Regions from separate parts of the Homo sapiens genome. Here regions 2 and 3 are each linked to region 1. Evidence: promoter capture Hi-C in 16 types of primary human blood cells and fetal thymus (Javierre and others, 2016). All regions are on one chromosome and are shown on one strand. The core of a region is centred on a gene start or on the middle of the fragment in contact, and the rest is flanking DNA. Distances in the headings are between cores, read along the strand shown. Region 1 holds the start of TGM5 (transglutaminase 5). Region 2 has its middle 4.3 kb from the start of EPB42. Region 3 overlaps EPB42 (erythrocyte membrane protein band 4.2).

What was found. The method cuts DNA at HindIII sites, captures the fragments that hold promoters and counts their contacts. A CHiCAGO score of 5 or more calls a contact.
Region 2: a contact is called between a fragment that was not itself captured here and the fragment with the promoter of TGM5 in region 1, in 1 of 17 cell types (megakaryocytes). The highest score is 19.2, in megakaryocytes.
Region 3: a fragment that was not itself captured here is called in contact with the fragment with the promoter of TGM5 in region 1 in 2 of 17 cell types (megakaryocytes and erythroblasts); the score reaches 8.9 in megakaryocytes.

The regions. Positions count from the first base shown.
Region 1 is chr15:43,265,215-43,268,306 of GRCh38, reverse strand. It overlaps TGM5 (transglutaminase 5), which reads left to right and starts at 1,379. Exons shown (of 13, transcript NM_201631.4): 1 at 1,379-1,467. The coding sequence starts at 1,458. It also overlaps the pseudogene ATP5PDP1. The HindIII fragment of the contact is 1,714 bases long and covers 335-2,048 here.
Region 2 is chr15:43,223,933-43,226,737 of GRCh38, reverse strand. It overlaps a transcript of EPB42 not described here. Among named protein-coding and RNA genes, the nearest start is that of EPB42, 4.3 kb to the right of the region's middle. The HindIII fragment of the contact is 1,435 bases long and covers 540-1,974 here.
Region 3 is chr15:43,204,543-43,207,347 of GRCh38, reverse strand. EPB42 (erythrocyte membrane protein band 4.2) reads left to right here. Exons shown (of 13, transcript NM_001114134.2): 9 at 1-149; 10 at 719-1,018. Among named protein-coding and RNA genes, the nearest start is that of EPB42, 15 kb to the left of the region's middle. RefSeq lists a silencer at 2,763-2,805. The HindIII fragment of the contact is 3,657 bases long and covers 1-2,805 here.

The DNA of each region.
Region 1 (3,092 bases), core at 130-2,629:
CTAATTATCTGAAATCCTGGAATGAGACCCTCACCTCCAGGCTGGCTACTTTACCTGAGAATCCACCAGCTATTGACTGGACTTACTACAAGGCCAATGTGGCCAAGGCAGGCTTGGTGGATGACTTTGAGAAGAAGTTTAATGTCCTGAAGCTTCCTGTACCAGAGGATAAATATACTGCCCAGGTGGATGCTGAAGAAAAAGAAGATGGGAAAACTTGTGCTGAGTGGGTGTCTCTCTCAAAGGCCAGGTTGGAGAATATGAGAAACAGCTGGAGAAGATGAGGAACTTAATACCATTTGATCAGATGACCATTGACGACTTGAACGAAGCTTTCCCGGAAACCAAATTAGACAAGAAAAAGTATCGCTATTGGTCTCACCAACCAATCAAGAATTTATAAAATTAAGTCCAGGAAGAAGCCCTGGCCCTTATAGTACACATTCTGGACATTAAAAATAAAAATAATTACATAGGTTTTAAAAAAGAGCTGAGTGGGGACAGAGAGAATTGAAAATACAGGAGGGAGGACAATGCTGGTGAAAGAGGTTCCCCAGGGAGAAGGACCCAGAAAGCAGGGGATGTGGGGAGAAGTGCCCCAGAGCACAGAAAGACAGGGTAGGCATGGGGGTCCCACCCACTCCACAGGCAGAGCCCTTCCCCCTCCTGCCCTCTCTCTCCTTCCACCTGCGCTTTTCTCCCTATGAAAGGGCTTGTGCCTTTCTTACTAGGATCAAGGCCCTTGCTCACCGGCATTCCCACCCTCTCACCTATTTCCACACCTCCTCCACAAATCTTCCCAATTTTTCTTCCTCTATTTTATTTGTGATTATTTGCTTTTATTTGTGATTTGTCTTGGACCTGCCAGGTCTCATGCAAGACAATGCCACTGCCAAAGCTAAATACAGTGAAATCATACCGAAGGAGATCCAGACAGAGAGGGTTCTGTTTGCATTTAATGTTCAGGAAGTGACTTTTCAGGATAAAAGAGAGGCCTTGGTTACCTAGCAGGGTTCTCGGCTCAATGAGGTGCTTTAAGCTGTGAGCAGAGTCTTGGGACCCTGATGCTCCTTCCAGCAGCCCCCTGCATCCCTCTGGCGGGCCCATCAGCTCGCTTCTCCCTCCTGACTTCTCCACCACAGCACAGCACCTCCCTGGGAATGCCCTATTGCTCAAGAGCTATCAAAGGCCCACACGGCATAAGGCTGTGACAGTTCATCAGCCTCCACACCTCCTTTCAATTCAGCAACACTGCCAAGAAAAACCTGAGGGCAAGTGAGCAAACCAGTTGTGATCTGCTCGGTAATCAGGTGGCAGTGCAGCAGTCCAGCCCCGCCTTCGGTTCTCCTGGAGGCTTCCAATGGAAGGGGAAGTAGACACTCTGGCACCAGTTTGCTGAAGCTCCAGACCGCCCAGCTGTTCTGTGGGGAGCATCCCAGGAACCGGAGGCAGCTACCATGGCCCAAGGTAGGGAAAGCCCCTGTGGCCACTGGAGTTCAGGGATAAGAAGGACAGAGAGAGACTGTAGGAAGTCAAGGGGTGGAGGGTGGATTCAGAGAAATAAAGAAGTAAATACAGAACTGAGGCAGGAAAAGCAAGAATCCCAGAAACCTCAGTATTCATTGGTGGCTTGAGAACCAGGAGACAGCGTAGAGGCAGACAGGTAAACACAGCACACAGCTGCTTGCTAACATGCCTGCCTCCATAGCCAGGTGGGACAGGGCAGGGCCAGAGATGAGGGGGTCAGGGTTTCTGTCCTTCTCTGCTACTAGCTGACCCTTTGACATTGGACAAGTCACTTCGCCTCTAGTTTCCAACCCCCTTGCCTGAAAAAGGAGGGATTGGACCAGACAATCTTGAAATTGTCTTCCAGCTCTTAAGTTCTCTGAATCTTCATATCTTCTCTTCTTCCTCCATTTCAGAAGGTCTATTACTGATCTTAGCTAATCTTCCCATCACCAACCTTCTCTCTATATCATCCCCCTCACTCTGGAAAGAGTTGCTGTGAAGATTAAATCGTTAGTTGAAATCATTTAGAGGAATAAGCTTTCAACTTCCTCTACAACTGTAACAACCTTACCTTTATTTATTACTTTTTGTGTTTAAATTTTTGTTTTAAAATTTTCATAACTTTTAATTGCACAAGAAATATGGGAATACATAGTTGGAGTAAAATAAATAAATAATTATAGATAAAGCTATAGTCCTCTGCCCGCCATCCCCAATGGCAGCCTCATCTCCAGAGTAAACACTGTTACCTGTCTTTTGTCTGCACATTTACACTCAGACATACATTTACTCAATGTAATACATAGGATTAGCATGTGTGGTCTTTTTTGGTATATCCATGGTATCATCATATTGTATGTATATTTCTACAACTTGATTTTTTTCACTCCACAGTATGTCTGGGAGCTCTGTCCATGCCAGTCAGTACCTATAGATCTACCTCAATATTTCTCATAGTATCAGTGCAAGTAATTTCTAATCCTGTCCCCTATTGATGGGCATTTAGGTTGTTTTCAATTTTCCGGTTACACAAGCAATATTGCAAGGAACATACTTATCCATGCCTCTGTGTGCTCACGTGGGAGTGTCTCTCTAGGATAACTACTAAGATCACTTACTTTAAAAGTTCTTTCTACAGTCTTCTGTTTATTTCCTGATCATCTCACCCCATTCTCCTCTCACCTCAAGGAAAACAAATATGCCCAGTAGTCAATGAACCTCCTATTTGAATAGATGGCACCTGGGCTGAAGAGTCATTCCTGTCTTAGGCAGAGATTAACATGGCCCAGGATGTCTCTAGAGGATGGAATTTTGTCCCAGCGCTTGCTGCCAGGCAGATGCTGCCATGCCTGCTGAGTAGCCTGCGTCATGTGCCCAACCTGAACTGTAGCCAGTTAGTGCTGTCTAATAAATTGGTCTCCAAAGGGGGCAAGCTTCTTTTTCCACTGTTAGGTAAAAGCCAAGTGCTTTCTTAGCTGGCAGTGGGTGTGGACATTTTTTTGATCATGAGTGAAAGCCAACAGTGGGCAACAGCTCTTGGGGGTGATGGGAAGAGCACTGGACTGGGCTCAGGAATCCTGGTT
Region 2 (2,805 bases), core at 8-2,507, 41 kb after region 1:
TGCTGCTCTCGATTCCTCCCGGGCCTTAGCTGCCTCCCCGCAGGGCAGGGCTCGGGACCTGCAGCCCGCCATGCCTGAGCCTCCCCAAGGAGCGCCGCCCTCTGCTCCACGGCGCCCGGTCCCATCGACCGCCAAAGGGCTGAGGAAAGCGGGCCCACAGCGCAGGACAGGCAGGCAGCTCCACCTGCGGCCCCAGTGCGGGATCCACTGGGTGAAGCCAGCTGCGCTCCTGAGTCTGGTGGGGACTTGGAGAACCTTTATGTCTAGCTCATGGTTTGTAAATACACCAATCAACACTCTGTATCTAGCTAATCTAGTGGGTACCTGGAGAACTTTTGTGTCCAGCTCAGGGATTGTAAACGCACCAATCAGCACCCTGTCAAAACGGACCAATCAGCTCTCTGTAAAACAGACCAATCGGCTCTCTGTAAAATGGACAAATCAGCAGGATGTGGGTGGGGCCAGATAAGAGAATAAAAGCAGGCTGCCCTAGACAGCAGTGGCAACCCCTTCGGGTCTGCTTCTGTGTTGTGGAAGCTTTGTTCTTTACCTCTTTGCAGTAACTCTTGCTTCTGCTCACTGTTTGGGTCCACACTGCCTTTATGAGCTGTAACACTCACCGCGAAGGTGTACAGCTTCACTGCTGAAGCCCCCGAAACCACGAACCCACCAGGAAGAACGAATAACTCCAGACGCGCCCCCTTAAGAGCTGTAACACTCACCGCGAAGGTCTGCAGCTTCACTCCTGAGCCAGCGAGACCACGAACCCACCAGAAGGAACAAACTCCGAACACATCAGAACATGAGAAGGAACAAACTCCGGACACGCGGCCTTTAAGAACTGTAACACTCACTGCGAGGGTCGGCGGCTTCATTCTTGAAGTCAGTGAGACCAAGTACCCACCAATTCCGGACACACTATTAGCTAGCTAACTCCTATTTATCCTCCCTTAAATATCACCTTCTGAGAGAAGCCTACCCTGACCGTCCACACCTGGGTCCAAGAGCACTCAAACTTCTTTTTTACAGCATTTGGCACACTTGACAGAGAAATAGCTAATGGTGTACGCACTTAGTATTGTTTGTCTCCCCCTGCTGGAATAGAAGCTCCTTGGTGGCAGAGACGCGTCTATAGAGCTTTACTGCTGTACCACCAGTATCTAACGCGGTTCCTAACAGTTCCTAACGGTACCTCAGAAAGTGCCCCGACTGAAATACTGCCAGAGACTGGATCTCTGTGAAGCTCTCATGGGAACTGTACCGGGAAAGAGAAGATTCTCTTTGCTAGAACCAGAAGGAGAACACATTCCCCAAAGGGAGACCAGCCCACAACCTCCCCATTGCTCTCCTAGGTAAGGGGCCCTCTGTGGTGAAAATAGTTCTTTCAGCCAGACTTTTCTTTCCCCTAAAAGTTTTTGTTACTTTAAAAATATTAACACATAAATACAAGTTCATGGCACAAAGATACAAAGGGTATATAGAAAAAAGCCTTGTGCCTAGGCACTGATGTCTCTATCTAGAAGCAATAATTTTCTAGAAATAGTCTATATAAACACAAGCAAATTCATATATATTCTCCCCACGCACACATACCCTTTACACAAAGATAGTATACTATTCACATTGTTCTCTACCTTGCTTATTCCACTTAACAATACAGCTTGGACTGGGCGCGGTGGCTCATGCCTGTGATCCCAACACTTTGGGAGGCCAAGGCTGGGGGATCACTTGAGCACCGGAGTTCAAGACCAGCCTGGGAAACATAGTGGGACCCCATCTCTACAAAAAATAAAAATTAGCCAGATGTAGTGGCACATGCCTGTAGTCCCAGCTACTCTGGAGGCTGAAGTGGGAGGATCACTTGAGCCCAGGGGTTGAGGCTGCAGTGAGCCATGATTGCACCACTGCACTCCAGCCTGGGTGACAGAGCAAGACCCTGTCTCAAAACAAATAAACAAACATACAAATCAAGCTTGGAGATTGTTCCACATCCTTTTATATAGAGCTACTTCATTCTTTTTCACCTTTATGTATTTTATTGAATGCATGTTCCATAATTTATCTACCTAATACCTTATGCATGGATGTTTAGGTAGTTTCTAGTATTTGGCTATTATAAATATCAATGCCTTGAATATACTTGTATAAATTTCATTTTACACCTGTTTGATCATTTGTATGATAAATACCTAGAAGTAGAATGGCTGAATCAAAAGTATAGACTTTTTTTTTTTTAAGTGAGAGCAAGTTTATTAAGAAAGTAAAGGAATAAAGAATGGCTAATCCATAGGCAGAGCAGCAAAAAGTATAGACATTTAAAGTTTTGGTAGAAACCACTTAATTTCCCTTTGTTCTGGACTGAATTGTGTCCTCCCCAAAAATTCATATGTTGAAGCCCTAACCCCCAATGTGACTGTATTTGGAGATGGGACCTATAAGAAGGTAATAAAGGTGAAGTGGGGTCATAAGAATGGGCTTCAATCCAATAGGAATGATGTCCTTATAAGAAGACGAAAAGGAAAAGACACCAGAGATCTTTCTCTTTCCGCGTGGACACAGGGAAGAGGGCATGTGAGGAAGAGAGCCTTCACCAGACACCAAGCCTAAAGGCCCTGATCTTGAACTTCCATCCTACAGAAGGGTGAAAACATAAATATCTGTTGTTTAAGCCACCCAGTCTGACTAACACTCTCCGTAGAGGCTGCACAAATTTGGAGAGGCTGCACCAATTATTTATTAATTAATTTATTTATTTCTATTTTTTTGAGACAATGTCTTGCTCTGTTGTCAAGGCTGGAATACAGT
Region 3 (2,805 bases), core at 81-2,580, 61 kb after region 1:
TGCCTCATGTGTGGTCTGGAAGTGCTGTGAGGATGGGACACTGGAGTTGACTGACTCCAACACAAAGTATGTTGGCAACAACATCAGCACCAAGGGTGTGGGCAGTGACCGCTGCGAGGACATCACTCAGAACTACAAGTATCCTGAAGGTACGGGCCAGGGAAGGGCCCCAGGCTTCTCGGTACCTGAAACGGCAAGCGAGGGAAAGGGATGGGCCTGGTAGATGCAGCCAGAAAGAGACTTGTCCTTTCCGCATCATATAAAACAGGGTTTCTCAACCCCATTTGACACCATTGACATTTGGGCCCAGATATGTCTTTGTTGTACAGGCTGTGCACCCTAGGACATTTAGCAGCATTCCTGACCCTCAGAGGAAGTCTAAATTCTTTCACATAGGAAAATTCAGTTCCCTGCAAAACTGTCCTCAGAGACAGTGTTGACTTGTCCCCAACCTTGCTCTCTCATCATTCAAGGGGAGAATTCATAGCACTTGAAAAAGAACTTGGTCCTTGAGTGGTTTGGAAGAGACACACTGTATCGGTGGTGGAGCTGCCTGACACAGACATTTTTGGGCTAAATATGGCCTTAGAGGCTTGCTGAGTTCTTGTGACTTTGGCATTTGAGCAGAAGTGGGTAAATGGTTTTGATTCCCAGGGTTTTATTAGAAGCATTTATACCACCCGGGTAAAAGGTCAGCTTTGTTTCTTCCCTTCTCCAGGGTCTCTTCAGGAAAAAGAGGTGCTGGAGAGAGTCGAGAAAGAGAAAATGGAACGTGAGAAAGACAACGGCATCCGTCCTCCCAGTCTCGAGACTGCCAGTCCTCTGTACCTGCTCTTGAAAGCACCCAGCTCCCTACCCCTGAGAGGGGATGCCCAGATCTCAGTGACGCTGGTTAATCACAGTGAGCAGGAGAAGGCAGTGCAGCTGGCAATTGGGGTCCAGGCTGTACACTACAACGGTGTCCTTGCTGCCAAGCTCTGGAGGAAGAAGCTGCACCTCACGCTCAGTGCCAACCTGGGTAATGCTCTATGGCCCCACCAGACACCCCCCGACACACACACACACATGGCCCCTGCCTTGGGCAGGCAGCAGCCACAGGGCACCCCCTGCAGTCTCTAGAGATGGCTTTGAGCCCCTGCTGCTCACTCTCATGTTCTCTCTCATTCATTCATTCAACACATATTTATTGGGCCTGAAGCAGGAAAAAAACACGATGCCAACTGCAGTCAGATAAGTAAACAGACCCTTCGTAGCAGTGTGAGAAGTGTTTGCTGAGTTTAACAGAGTACAGTGGCAGGAGAGCACCTCCCCCCAGGCTGGAATAAGCTGCCCCCAAATAAATTGTACTGCATGGAATCTGGAAGGATGAGTAGGAGAGTAATGGCCAGAAAAGTAAGTCTTGGCATTCCAGACGGAAGGAGCAACGTGTGCAAAGGGCCCTGCTCATCCCTGAGGTTCTTTCTTAATTGGTCTGAGATGGGGTCCAGGTATTGTTTTTTTCTTTTTTTAACACCCTGTGTTATTCTACAGTTAAGATTCCCTGAACCAGAACAATTGTTTTTAAATTTTGCTGCACATTAGAATCACCTGGGGGAAGTTTGATGCTCAGCCTGCATCTCAGGCCAATTAAATGACAGATTCTATGGTGGGCTGGACGCAGTGGCTCATGCCTGTAATCCCAGCACTTTGGGAGGCCAAAGTGGACAGATCACCTGAGGTCAGGAGTTCAAGATCAGCCTGGGCAACATGGTGAAACCCCGACTCTACTAAAAATACAAAAATTAGCCAGGCTTGGTGGCACACAACTGTAATCCCAGCTACTGGGGAGACTGAGGCAGGAGAATCGCTTGAACCCAGGAGGCAGAGGTTGCAGTGAGCCAAGATCATGCCACTGCACTCCAGCCTGGGTGACACAGTGACACTCCGTCTCAAAAAGAAAAAAAACAAAAACTCCATGGTGGAACACATCAGAATTTTTAAAAACTGAAGTAATTCCGATGTGCAGACAAGTGTGAGAATCAGTTGACGAGAGCTTGTCTACAGCATTGCAACAGCCTTCTAACCGGTCACCTCACCTCCAGTCTCTGTATCACTCTTCCCTTTCCAAGCATGGGAGGAGTGGAGTTGGGAGAGTGGCGTGAGAACTGGACAGGGCCCAGGTGACACAGGGTCTTGTCTCTCTTGCTAAGGAGTTTGAGTTTTGTTCTCTGGGTAATGGAAAACTGGTGGAAGGTTTCAACCAGGGTAGTCAATGGAATCAGAAATTCATTTTAACAAGAAAGAACTTTTGGCAGAATGGAATGGAAGGGGTCATATAAGAAGAGTGCTTCTTAACCTTAGCTGCACATTGAGTCATCTTGGGAACTTTTTTTTGGGGGGGGGGCGGAGGGGGCAGCCTTCTGAGCCAGAGTAGGTTCAGAGACTCCGATCATCTGGGGAACTTTTAAAAATACTGATGTCTGGGCTTCATCGCCAGAGTCTGATGTAACTGATTTGGGGTGTGGCCTGGCATTGGGATTGTTTTGTAAAGCTCCCCACTTGATTCTAACATGCATCCAGTCTTGAGAACCACTGGATTGAAGATGAGAAGGTTGTGTAAATCATCAAGTCAAGAAATCAAGGCCAAACTAAGCTAGCAGCACTTAGAGTTAAAACATATTAAGGAGTTGAGATAGATGGGGCTTGTGAATGTGTGAATGTGTATATGTGTGTGGTGGGTGCTTCTGGTTTGGGTGAGTCACTAGAATAGGAAAAATGGGGAGGAGCAAGTTTGGGGAGAAAAAGGATGGATTTGGTTGTGGCACA